2 separate regions of the Homo sapiens genome follow, and region 2 is linked to region 1. Evidence: promoter capture Hi-C in 16 types of primary human blood cells and fetal thymus (Javierre and others, 2016). All regions are on one chromosome and are shown on one strand. The core of a region is centred on a gene start or on the middle of the fragment in contact, and the rest is flanking DNA. Distances in the headings are between cores, read along the strand shown.

What was found. The method cuts DNA at HindIII sites, captures the fragments that hold promoters and counts their contacts. A CHiCAGO score of 5 or more calls a contact.
Region 2: a fragment that was not itself captured here is called in contact with the fragment with the promoter of DEFA4 in region 1 in 1 of 17 cell types (monocytes); the score reaches 6.5 in monocytes.

The regions. Positions count from the first base shown.
Region 1 is chr8:6,937,056-6,943,681 of GRCh38, forward strand. DEFA4 (defensin alpha 4) reads right to left here and starts at 1,251. Exons shown (of 3, transcript NM_001925.3): 1 at 1,171-1,251. RefSeq lists a silencer at 987-1,056. The HindIII fragment of the contact is 1,500 bases long and covers 607-2,106 here.
Region 2 is chr8:6,824,918-6,832,035 of GRCh38, forward strand. XKR5 (XK related 5) reads right to left here. Exons shown (of 7, transcript NM_207411.5): 3 at 248-432. Among named protein-coding and RNA genes, the nearest start is that of XKR5, 7.0 kb to the right of the region's middle. The HindIII fragment of the contact is 592 bases long and covers 5,507-6,098 here.

The sequences.
Region 1 (6,626 bases), core at 1-2,500:
CTCCTATTGGCCTTGACATCCCTGGAATGCTCCTCTGCTCTCCCAGCTTTCTTCACAGGAAGCTCTATGTTTAGTGTCTGTGCTAGGTTGAAGTTGATGGTGATGATGAGGACCCTGGCATTTTTTCCTGTTTTCAGGAAATACCTAATATTTCCTGGTTAAATCTTTAATATTCTAAAAAGAATGGAAACAGTGCTTTCATTCAATAATTTAAGAGAGCAAATGCCTCTTATTTCCTGATAATGGGCCCTACTATTCTCTTCAGGTCTAAACACTGGTGCCAGACCTGTATTCCGGTGGAGTAGAGAGTAACTCATTGCAGGCTTCTAGGTCATTATACCCTCATGAAGGGGCGACTGAGGTAATGGGGTGAGTAGTCTCCTGTAGGGGCCAGAGTGAAGAGGACAATGACCTTATCAGGGTACAGGTGAAATGAGCTCAGTGAGAGAGATAAAGAGTTGTGTAAGGTTCATGAGTTGCTAGGTGCATACACGTGGTCCTTTCTCTCACAGCATGTAAAAAATCAGCTCAACATGGATTGAAGACTCAACATAGACTTGAAAAGACCTGAAACCATACAACTACGAGAAGCACATACAAAGATAAAGCTTTGGACATTGACGTGAGTAATGATTTCTTGGCTATGACACCAAAGGCACAGGCAATAAACAAATGGGAAAATAGACAAGCGGGGCTGCATTGAACGCTAAAGCATCTTCATAGCAAAGGAAACAATCAACTGAGGGAAACGGCAACCCAGAAAATGAGAGAAAATGTTTGCAAAGCCTACGTGGTAGAAGGGGTAAATATCTGAATACATAAGGAAGTCAAACAACTCAATAGCAAAAAACAAACAACCTGATTGAAAAACAGACCTAGGACCTGCAGAGGCTTCTCTCACAATAAAATAATGTTTTAAGAAGCTGTGATCGTCTTTATTGGACATGTCAAGTAGGACACGTGTGTTTGGAAGGAAACTTTTTGAGTTTCTCTATTGACTTAGCTAGTAGCCATTACCCCCAGCAGCCGCCAGACACCCAGATAGAAGTTCACAGCAGGGGCTTCACCCGCTGGGTCCCTCTGGGGTGGCCCCACAGTGAGAGGTCAGACTGGGGACACAGCTTCAATATTGAAACCTCAATGTGAAAGTTTAAGTTTTGTGTTACTTACAGATCCTCAAGCTAGGCAGGGCGAGCAGAGAGGGCAGACAGCAGTCCTGTGTTCCAGGTCTTATGTAGCAAGAGCAGCCATGCACACAGAGGAGAGGACTTCCTTATTTAAGGGTCTTTTGGTATCAGGTGTCCTAATTTTTCAGGGTTACTTTCTATTGGGTACTTTAAATAACTGTTAACAAGGGCAGTTGAGAAATTTGGCAGAAAGCTGGAGTTCAAGCAGGAGTCCACGGAGGTACCGACCCCTCGTCTACTTTGGTCAGCCCTGGCCAGGCCCAGGCAGCAATCAACTATGGATTCCTCATGACTCCTAAGACAATTGACCCCATGATACCTATGCTGGTGGCTGAGGCTGAACTACCTGGACCGAGGGAATATTTAAAGCCACCAGGAGAGCCTGGCCTGCATATTGTTGTATACACCTTGCGAGGAGACTAGGATCAAAATGCCACCCACACACAGATGAGGATTTGGAATGTGGTCTGAACTGACCTCCCCAGGCCCTGGGGTCTAACCATAAAAACAAATCCAAGCCATTCAGACAAGTAAGGTTGGAGAATACCTGGATGAGACTGAATACCGCCTGGGCTTGTGTTGCTGGATAGGGCAGGTTGCAGGCTCCCGAGTAAAGGATGTGCATATAGCATGTGGTTCCCTAGAGGGGACAGTCACCTTTTTGCTTGGCCTTAGATAGTTCAAGCCTAAATGACTGTCTAGGTCATCCAGGCCAAGGACTCATCAAATGATTGCGTGACACCTAATGTCTGTCAGAAGTCCCTTAGGATGGTGGCCAAAGCTGCAGCGAGATTGGTGTTAGCTTGCATCACCTTGTGTTGTGAGCTCAAATACCCTGTTCCCAAACCAATCCCGTAGGCTTACGAGTCTCCCTACACCCAGAGTTAGGAAGATGGTCACTGGGTGGGGGGGATGCATAAGCTTTCCCTTGTGTGGTCCCTCCTGGGTTATTTGAAGGGGAGTCCCAGGGAGACTAGTGCACATTTTAAAATGTACCACTCTCCACCATCCTCCTCCTTGTAGTGAGGTAAACGGGATGAGGTTTCTGGAAATGAGAAAAGAATGCAGTTGTTCCTGAGGGAATGAATACCTATAGTGAGGTTGCTGAACCCAGTATGCAGTCCAGGCAGCCCCTGCCGCCATGGGAGGGCCGTGCACAGCGCTGGTCCAGCAGGCTGGGTGCTCAGGGCCTCCCCTGCAGCTCTGCGTGAAGGCAGCAGGCACTGGGCTATGGAGGACTGGGGGCAGCGGCGCTCTCAGTCTTAAGGAGGGAAGAGGCATCTCAAGCCTCGCTAGGGGTGGTCGCTGTTCCAGAGCAGTGAAGTCGGCTGCCCCTATGAGGAAGCAGTGAGTTCCTGATCTGTTGCAGGCCCAGCAATTTCACCTTTGGAGGAAGTGGGCACTGGACTCATTCCAGCAGAGGAAGAAATTAGGGCTATTTGGGGAACTGGGCCCCAGATGATGGTTTTAGGTTCTAGGGCATTAGTAGGTGCCTGAAGGGCCCAGTGGATATGGATGTAGAGGCAAAATGAGAAGGGGTGTGTGTGCACGTGGGGAAGGTCTGGTGGTTGTGGGGATGTCCAGTGTCCTGCAGAAGTGAAACCTGGACCAGCCTCCTGCACACAGAACACACTCCAATCCATAGGCATTTTCCTAGTAACATAGGAGAGAGCTGTTATTGGCAGAGCTGGTTAGATTTGGGTGTGATATTATAACAGACAGGTCTTCCAAGTCCATATTTTTTGGCATAACTTGTAGGGCAGCCTCCTGATCTGATCCAAGCCTTGTGGTTTCCTTGCAGTAGGCGGTTTAACTAATGGGTTACACTGAAGACAAATGGGGATCCCAGCAAAATACCATTCTAAGGGGTCATCTGCAGGGTCCTCAGGAAAGCATGAGCTAAGAAAGCACGGGTCCAGGTACTGGACGTGAGCCAACTCCATGTCCCGGGGGTGGTGAGATCCATACCTTGCGGCAGGAAGGAGAGTAAGGTGAGTCTGGTTTGGGGATGACCCCACAGTCAAGATGAGATTCCTTGGTGTCTCTGGTTCTGGTGAGGCCACTGTTTCCCAGGACAAACCCTTGGATCAGAGCACTGTCTTCTGAGGTGATGGCCTTTCGGGTAGGGGTGGCCTTTCCAGCTGGTCACTCAAGAAGAGAGAGGGTATGGGCTGGTGTTGCACAGGCCTCTGGCCTCTGTGGGACTCCATGGAAGCGTTTAGTGAAAGCTTGAGTGGTGCTTTCCTTGGTCGGGGGATAGGACATTTCCATCCACAACTCACATACTTTGGAGCACAGAAGTATCCCTAAGCCCATGAACGTGTTTGAATGCTTTCTCTGCATGTGAGGCTCCAACCTTTCCGGCCACAGACTGAGTTTGTGCTGAGGCATCATTAGCTGGTTTGTATTCATGCCTGGTCATGGGGAGGGCCACCTGCCTCTGATTGTGGGGGTTGCTGGTGTTTAAGCTTTAGTGCCATGGGTCCCATTCAATATCTAAGGATCGGGTTTCCTGGCTTGGATCCAGGTCAGGTGGCATTTGGGGTTTTGCCCCTCTAGCACATTGCCTCAACATGCCACAGTTTTCCAGCCTGGGGTTCAATTTCTCACAGTGGCTGTCCTGTTCCAGCAGCTCTCTGGGATGCCAGGCCCCAGGCCTAAGAGCAGCCGTACAACATTTACATACATAAGATACCCAGCAAGGCCAAAGATAGAGAGCACTGACAGCTTATAACTCAGGGATTTCCTCAAGGTACTTTTACGTCGATATTGATTATGGGGTGGGCTTTCACCAACATTTCTTCAGAGCATTTTTCTGCAATCGACACAGGACATGGTGATGGTAGTTCCATGTGGTCTTTGTCTGATGTAGTTGGCGTCCTCTAGTTTGATGGCTTTTTCTCCTCATTTAGTGACCCAGACTGTACCCTCTTTGGGCTGCAGAGAAACAATCCCCACTTCCTTCAGGGAGGAGTGAGTGGGAGATATTAGCTACCTTTCAAAGCAGGAAGAACTGGAGCTTCTGCTGGAGGCTGTATGTCAAGAGGTGAGGTCTGGTGTAGCAGAAGCATCTTAGGGCTGCTCTGTGGCAGCTGCCTGGACCATCAGTCCCCAGAGGATCACAGCTCACTATCTGTATTAGTCCATTTTCATGCTGCTCATAAAGACCTACCCGAGACTGGGTGATTTATGCAGGAAAGAGATTTCATGGACTCACAGTTCCACATGGCTGGGGAGGCCTCACAATCATGGTAGAAGACAAAAGGAGCAAGTCAAGTCTTACGTGGGTGGCAGCAGGCAAAGAGAGAGCTTCTGCAGGGAAACTCCCTATATAAAACCATCAGATCTTGTGAAACTTATTCACTACCATGAGAACAGCATGGGAAAGACCTGCCTCCATGATTCAATTACCTCCCACCAGGTCCCTCCAACACATAGGAATTCAAGATGACATTTGGGTGGGAACACAGCCAAACCCTATCACTGTCCATCCTCGATCGAGTCTTTAGTAAATGTTTGATGCTGAGACAGTGGACATCTTGTGATGGTATGAGGGGGTCTCATTATTGCAGAAAATGTGGGTGATGGTATCCATAAGGGAAAAAGAGCTCAACTCTTCTGTGATCACCAGGGTGGGTGCCATGGTTGGTCTGGTCCAATTGTAGAAGAGCTGGTGGCCATGGTGTTGAGAATTAAGATAGTTAAGGCTCTCAAAGGAGCTTGGTTCCCTTGATGAACCACTTGTAGGGGGACTGGAGCCTTTCCTAATTTGACTTAGTCTGTGCTCATGCCACAACTTTAATAAGCATGACTTTAGGAGGCCACTGTGTTGCTTGAGGAGGCCAGTGGCTAAGTGAGGGTCCCCTAACCCCCATGCTGAGTTGCCCAGCACCACCCTGAAGTGGGAGCCCTGATCTGCATCAGTGATATCTGGTGGTTCACAAGAGGTAATAGAGCAAATGTCACAGAAAGAGAGCACCTTTCTCTACCAAGAGCCTTGGGTTGGAAGAGTCAATGGAAGTGCGGTGGATGTGTGTCTGCTCCTGCACAGCAGAAGGTGGTGGCTGTGATGGGAGAGGCCCAGTGAAGTCCATTTGCCACCAGCTGAAAGGGTGATGGCCCAGGAACAAGGGATTGCTGGCCACAGTTTTGCTTGCCTGAAGCTATGGTGGGAGACAGCTGTGGTGTGGGTTGCCCTCTAATGTGGCTGTAGCTCTCATGATCTGGGGCTGTAGGACTCCACTCTGTCAGCACCTGAGGAATACAGAACTTGAGATTCTGGAGTCTGTAAAAATAAGAGGATCTCACCCAAGCCCTGGGAGGTGCATCTGACCGCTAACCTCCTGGGGACAGGACATCAGGGGCTGTCAGCAGGCTCAGTCTGGAGGCCAAAGATGGCAGTCGTCTCACTGTGGATGCCTCACCCTTCGAGTGGTGGAAAGTAGCCTGGGCATGTTTGTTCTGAATGCATGAGGCATGAATCACCTATAGGAGGACTGGAGTGTCCCCTAATTTGACCCAAACAGGTCCACGCCACAGAGGCCATTCCAGAGGCATTGGATCCAGGGCACTCACAATATGTTGGGCACAGCCCAGGAATCTGTAAAAACTGTCCCCGAGTGGGGGTTATGGCCACAGCAACCTCCCCTGCAACCGGCACCACCAGCTGTATGGCTGGGCTCAGCATACCCTCCCCTCCTATGCAGGCCCTGCTGTGATAAATGTGGGAGGTGGTTGCCGGCCAGTGGGCTCCCGGCCTGCAGGGCAGTGCTGCCTTCCCTGAGGTATGTGGACTCCCCATGTCCAACTCTTCCCATGGCCTCATCAGGTCACCAATTGTTCGGGCAATAGGGTCGCTGCTGCTATTTCTCTCTGCTTGTAGGCAGGAGCTGAATAACAGGGAAACCATGGCCTCAGCTTCCTGTCACTTGAAAGGACTTAAGTGCCAGGTTTGCCTTGTCCTACAAGTGCTGTTCCCATTTTCCCAGGGAGACATGAATGGCTGAGCCTCTGTCAGGAGGAGTCAGACATGGGGCATGGCTGGAGTCTGGGGACACAGCAGCACCGGAACCTGTCCTGTAGTGCCTATGTCTATACGGGCATTGTGTGTAGTGGTAGCCAGCTTTTTAACGGGGGATAATGAGCTGCAGCTGCCAGGAAGTTTATGCCTGCAGAAGCCCATAGCCAGGATGGACGTGCTTTCTCCAGAGGCTCTGGGAGTCATGATTGGTGGTACTGAGGGCCTCTATATGAAACTCAGAACCCGGGACCTGGGCATGGCCTGAGAGACCACCTGCTGAGCCAGCTGCATGCTGTATCCTGCTGTGGCCCCAGTTAAGACATGGAGGGCTTCTGGGTGACAGTGTCTGTGGGCCTCTGCAGAATGGACAAGTGAGGTGTAGGTGCAGGCGGAATGTCCCAGTATGCGCAGGGCCTGCC
Region 2 (7,118 bases), core at 4,553-7,052, 110 kb before region 1:
ATGGGCAATTTCTATCTTATGGGCTGACTTTAGAACATGACCCTTAAGAAAGAAGGGAGCCAACTCTCTGTAAACTCAATGCACCAGCAAAAGCCAGTTTTAAGCATCATCTGTGCCAGTGAGCTCAAGGTGCCCTAATGCTCCTAAGCAGAGGAAATCTCGAAGGGAGGGTTTTGCTAAACAGGCTCACATTCCTGTCCCCCTTCGGCAGTCAGACAGTCTGTGCTCTGTGGTGACAGTTACTCACCTGGCACAATATCTGTGAAGTCTGAGGCTAGAAAAACATATGTCTGAAGCAGCAGGTGGGGCCCAGTCTGCAGCAGGGCCTCCAAGAGTCGAAGGGCCGACAGGTCGGCCTCCTGCAGCTGCAGCCAGCCTCGGTGGGGAGCCTCCAGTTCCTTCTGCAGACTGGTCAGTGCAGCGTCCCAGTGCCTAGGGAACAGCAGAGGGCACGTGACACGGAGCCAGGCTGTGGCGAGATTCAATAGGACGAGCTTTCATTTAGAGACATACTACATGCTAAGCAATATCCTATGCCCTTACTAGTCACCTAGAGTTACTAGTTAGGCTGTTGCCAGCCTCTGACTGCAAGCAGAAGACGTCACTTCTATGTAAGTTCCCCGAGTCCTGTGGTGCTCAGCCAGGCCACACTCTCCCCACGTCTGGTACCCCAGTACCTGACCTGGGGGCTCTTTGAGCTGGAGCGGCTGCATGGCAAGGGAACCCAGACTGCCAGCTCTGTGAAGCTCGGCAATCACCCCGACCTGAGTCCCACCCCGGATCCTCTTGGGATGGGAATTCATTTATCGACAGATGTCTGTTGCAAGGTACTGTGTGTTATCATCTCTTTGAAGGACAAAAAGTAGAAAAAACCCTTGTCTTCATCCTCACAGAATGTAGAACTCTGTGCTGCGAAAACTGGGGCACATGAAGAGCAGACAGGGAAGAAGGATCTGGAGGCTTTGCTGGGGAGTGGCCAGAGGTCCAGGTGGCTGGAGCACCATGCGGAGCTTGGAGGCTGATGTGGTCCCGGTGAAGTAGATCAGGGCCCTGAACTTCAGGCTATGGGGTTTGGATTTTGCTCTGGAAAAATGAATTTGGCAGAGGTAATATGTACTGTCTGGGGTATGAGATGAATGTGTATGGATTTGTGTGTCTATGTATGTGTATGTGCATGTGCGTGTATATGGGTGAACACACATGTGGTGTACATGTGCTTGTGTGTGTGTGTATGTATCTGCATGTGCATGTATGCATGTGTGTGTGCAAGTGTGCAAAACATATGCATATGTATATAGGCATTATGTGCTTGCATATATATAGTGTGTATGTTTATATATGTGTGTGCATGAAGGTATATGTGTGTATATTCATGTATGTGTGCAGTGTGTATCTGTAGTGTGTGCAGTGTGAGTGTGTGTGTGTGCACGCATGTAGTGTGGGTGTATGAACAGGGGATAGGAACATCAGGAGGAAACAGAGCTAATAGAATACTTCCAGCAGTAATTGGTGAAGGGAGTCCTAGGAATGGAAAGTAGGGAGCAGGTGCAGGAAATAGTGGAGTTGGAGATCAGGATTTGATGACTGAACAGGGGAGATGAGGGAAGTTGCAGTGGCTTTGAGGTTTCAGGCCTAAATGACTTGGAAATGGTGGTGCTACCGACGGAAATAAGCCAGGTGAGGAGTGCTGGATTGGCCACGATATGAATTTCTTCAGCAGTGAGGAATGTGAGGATGGGTGGAGCCCCCATAAGGAGAGATCTGGATGACCAGTTGTGGTTGAGGGACTGGAAGTGGCCAGAAGAGACTGTGTGAAGACAGCATAGACCAAGGACAGCACCCTGGGGACTGTTCCCACTAAGGGGCCTGGATACGAAAGGGACACCAGCAAGGGTGGGTGGAAGCCGAGAACCAGGCAGCGGAGAGAGCTGCTGATCTCTGCACTGTGGATTACAGGATGGGGTGGCCCAGGGCCACGGGGACACATCTGCTCACCCAGCCTGGGTGGTCCTCCGAGGCTCTCGGAAAAGGAATCAAGCAACAAGAAAGAAGTCAGAACATGTCCTTGCTTCAGTCTGTTTCCCATGAGCCTATGCCAGGCACCTTTACTGGAAACTTCATCTCATAAGTAGAAAGTGGCACAGACCACCTTCCTTACAACCTGAAGATCCACATAGAACCCATGACCACGAAGCCACTCCCCACCACACCAGCGGGCTCTCAGGCTTCGAGTCTCACCTGGAGGTCAGATTTCGCCACCACCCACCAATTCCTCTCTGGGTCTACCTAGCAGCAGCAATAAGGAGATGACCACAGCCGCCTGCACACGAGCCTGCTGCCCAGCAAACCCACTGGATTCTGCTTCCCTGTCTTGTTCAATTTAAGAACTAGAGGTCACTTCAATTTAGCAACTCCTGAAGCCAAGCTGGATGCATCTCGAAGGTCACCTGCAAAACTCCCTGTAGAGACCCCTAAGGCTCTGACTGGCAGGTGACAAGCTGGACCCTGATGGGTGGCAAACATTTCTATGTCCAGAGCAGAAGATTCGGGGACTCCTCTTTGAAATGGCTTTATTCATGGTGCTGAGATCCCAGGACAGATGTCTAAGAAAAACAACTTTCCTTTTTCATGATTTGGAATCCTGGAGTGAACCCATTTCTTACTGTGTCTTGATTCCTGACATAAACTTAATGTTAAGAAAAACATATGACACTAAAAAATGTAACCATGAGGGCAGGCAGTAGTTTTCTTTTCACTCTCAAATCATTTGTTCCTGACATGGGGTAGTTTCCTCTTCTTGCTCTTCCAGAAAGCTTTGTTTGTTCAACATGCATTTTTCTTGGGCTTTGAGAGGCCCACCTGCTACAGACCACAGGCGAAGTAAGAGAAATGAATCCCAGCTTTTTGGGAGGCCAAGGCAGGAGGATTGCTTGAGCTTGGGAGTTTGAGACCAGCCCTGGCAACATAATGAGACTCCATGTCTACAAAACAAAACAAAACAAAGAGCTGGGATAGTGGTGGGTGCCTGTAGTCCCAGCTACTCAGGAGGCTGAGATGGGAGGATCACTTGAGCCCAGAAGTTCAAGGCTGCAAGTGAGCCATAATTATGCCACTGCACTCCAGCCTGGGTGACAGAGGCAGAAGACTCTCGTGAAAAAAAAGAAAAGGGGGGAAGTGAAATGAAAGATGTCTTTTAGAAACCTAAGATTCAGTGTGGAAAGAAAACATACAAATGCGAAAAGCTTCAAGAGGAAGAAATATAAGTATCAACATGAGTGGCTTGGGTAGTGGTGGAATCAGAGTCACAGGCAGAGAGAATAAGGTGGTCAGGGAATGCTTCCTGGAAGAGGAGGACAGGCAAACTCTGGACAGGTAGATGGTAGGAAGAGCCTAAAGGAGTGTCTGGGGTCAGTGGCACAGGGTACAAGGCACTGAAATGAAGGTCCATGTCTGGGAATAGCGAATATCTGGTGCTTGGTAAGGCGGGGGCCAGGAGAGGCTGAGTTGTGGGGCTACTCTTGTAAGAAACAGAGGACCAGTGGGAAGGTGACTAGCCCGGTTTTCTGAAACGAGCTGTCTCGAACCCATTGCAGAGGGAGAAATTCAGGCTGAGACCCCTGGACAGCCACTAGGGAAGCCGGGGAGGAAGCTGAGGCGGGATGGAGAGCGTGGGGATTTGGTCACTAGGTCCTATGAGATGGTGTCCGACATCTGTCCTCACAGTCGCTGCATCATTCCAGGTCCTTATCAGCACTTGCCTGGATTTCTGGCTGCCTGCATGGACCCCGTCCCTCCCAACTCTGTTGCATTTTATTGTCCCTGGTGCCATCTGTCTACAGGCTCATTTGCCCATATTATTCCTTTGCTCAAACCCTTCCAACAGGTCTCCAATGCCTGAGGATAAAATCCAAACTCCTTAATCCAGTAGAAAAGTTTCTTCATGGTCCAGCCCATTTATCTCCTGCCACATTCCTGCCATCTAGGAAATTCTTACCCTTTAGTCTCAAGAACCTCATCCTAATTTCCCATATACACCACTTCTGGCACGCATCTATGTCTTTGCACCAGCGGCTGCAGCTTGCTGTGTCGGAAACGCCTGTTCCCTCCCTACATTGATGGAAATCGCAACAGCCTTCAAGCCTCACTCGAGGGATCCTGAGGCAGGACTGGGCCCTCCAGGGCTAGGGCTATATTTTATATACTTTTAAATATTAAATCTCCACCCATTTATGCTGAACCTGTCTTACATACCTTTAGAGTTTACCTTAACTTTCCTTTTGACAACCTTGAACTTTCACTAAAGAAAAATTGCTAAACCAAGGTGCATGCTAAGGATGAGATAGGCCTTCTTCTGTCATCTCATGCTGCATTTACAAGTGGATTTGTGGGCTTAAAAAGAAAGATGAAAAAGATGTTGGTAACATACAGTATTAAAGTGTAAGTAAAAAACCTAAGTAGAAGAAAGTAATGGTCTTTGTTTAAATAAGTGGTCACCAATGTCAGGTTCTCTTGAACAGAGTCAGACTTAAAATGAACATAGTATGTATTATTGGGAACGTTAAAAAGAATACACTTATGGCTTAAATCCTTGCCTTTTTATATTTATTTATTTATTTGAGATTGAGTCTCATTCTGTTGCCTAGGTTGGAGTGCAGTGGCGTGATCTCAGCTCACTGTAACCTCTACTTCCCAGGTTCAAGCGATTCTCATGCTTCAGTCTCCTGAGTAGGTGGCATTACAGGTGTGCGTGACCACGCCTGGCTAATTTGTCTATTTTTAGTGGAGATGGGGTTTCGACAGTGTTGGCCAGGCTGGTTTAGAACTCCTGGCCTCAAGAGATCAGCCTGCCTCCACCTCCTAAAGCACTGAGATTACAGGTGTGAGCCGTCACGCCAGGCCAAATTCTTGCTTTTTTTTTTTTTTTTTTTTTTTTTTTTTGAGACGGAGTCTCGCTCTGTCACCCAAGCTGGAGTCCAGTGATGCAATCTCGGCTCACTGCAAGTTCCGCCTAACGGGTTCATGCCATTCTCCTGCCTCAGCCTCCCAAGTAGCTGGGACTACAGGCGCCCGCCACCACGCCCGGCTAATTTTTTGTATTTTTAGTAGAGACGGGGTTTCACCGTGTTAGCCAGGATGGTCTGGATCTCCTGACCTCGTGATCCGCCTGCCTCGGCCTCTCAAAGTGCTGGGATTACAGGCGTGAGCCACCGCGCCAGGCCTCAATCCTTGCATTTTTATAAGCAACTTTGTGTTTTACTGGATTCTCAGTTAGCAGATTCTTTTGTATTTTGTGATGAGGACACTCAAAGTGACCTATTCTTAGGCAATTCAAAATTGTGCCAAACGCAATTGTTTTGGCTCCCCCTACAGGTCCTTTTCTAGAATTGCAATTTGGAAAGCTGGATTGCCTCACTAAAAATACTGCTTCACTCAGTGTTGTCTTTGAACCCTATGTGCTAGTTTCAGGATGAGGAATGGATCCACTGCTGTCTATTTTAACTTTCAAAGCTTTCCTCTATGGAAGTAAATTTCTGTTTTTTGGTTCATGTTTAACCTGAGAAACACTGCAAATCTTGCGGCCTTTATGCTTGCACTGGCTGTTATAAACCTTAGGGCCAAATTGTGACCCGCTTCCGATAGCTGTGCATTCTGGCTCTATCTTGTTTTCTAACATTTCATCTCGATACCTGGCCTTTCTCATTTCTTTTCTTTTCTTTTTTGTTCTTTTAAGGATGTGTATTTTTAAAGTCATCTTAACTTCTTTTTCAAAACAAGAATAAATATATATGACTAATGGTTTTTCCTAATTTATAATTTTCATGTATCTCTTCACTTATCTATATGATTTCACTAGTATATACCAGATTATTCAAGTTCGTTTTTTTATATACACCAGAAAATCATGGCATCACTTAAGAAAATTAAGAGTGCATGGGAAAGACAGTGTGGGGTCCACTGTGAAATACCAGCAGCATGAATTTGGACACACCGTGGTCCCCTGGCAGCCCTCATCTCTGAGGAAGGCAGTGGATTCCATGAGGCCTGAGGGTCCACACAGCCTCAGAAGGCAGATTTGTCTAACCGTTCATTACCCAGGAAGCTTCTCTAAGTGACCACCTGGGCTTACCTCTCTCTTTGGGCTGCCAAACATGGGCTCATGGTAGCTGACTCACTCAACAGGCCTCTGTCCTCGAGGGCTCATGCCTTACGACTGTGATGGTCAAAGCCAAGTAAGACCCAGAGCCCTTAAGGATTGATTACTGGGCTGGGCCGATCAGGGAAGGAGACGACAATGGCAGCTAGGGCACAGGAGAGGCTCTGACCCTATGAGGCCCTCCGAAAGATCCTTCTCTGCCTTCTCCGCCATGGAAGGAAGGGCCCTGTCTTTTCAGGGGAACGGCACTGCTTGAACACCAAGGCCGAGCTTTTGGCAAAATGCCTGTGGCTGCAAATATGCTTTCGGTGCTGTTAGAGGTTTAGGGTCCAACTCTGAGGGTCCAGTGAAACTGAGAGTGGGTGCTTGAAGTCTTTCTCAGAAGCACCCTCTACCTCCTAGCTGAGATTCTACTCTGGGCGGGACGGCACCATTCCCTGCTCACAGTGATGCTCTATGTGGGGCTCATCACTCATTTCAGTGCCTCCGGAGAAAGTCTTGGGAATAGCTTGCAGGCATAAACCCCTAGGACACACAGCAGCATTGGCCACGACCCCTTGAACACCTTTCCAACCCTCAGTGCCTATGATTTAATGAACACTTGAGCTGCAGGGCTTCACCGCTCTGATCCCTGAATTTTTCTCCCTTAAAAAAAATCCTGTGGCCAGGTGCAGTGGCTCACGCCTGTAATCCCAGCACTTTGGGAGGCCAAGGTGGGCGGATCACGAGGTCAGGAGACCGAGACGATGCTGGCTAACCCAGTGAAACCCTGTTTCGACTAAAAATACAAAAAATTAGCCGGGCATGGTGGCACGTGCCTGTAGTCCCGCCTACTCAACAGGCTGAAGCAGGAGAATCGCTTGAACCCAGGAGGCGGAGGTTGCAGTGAGCCAAGATCACACCACTGCACTCCAGCCTGGGTGACAGAGTGAGACTCCATCTCAAAAAAAAAAAAAAAAAAAAA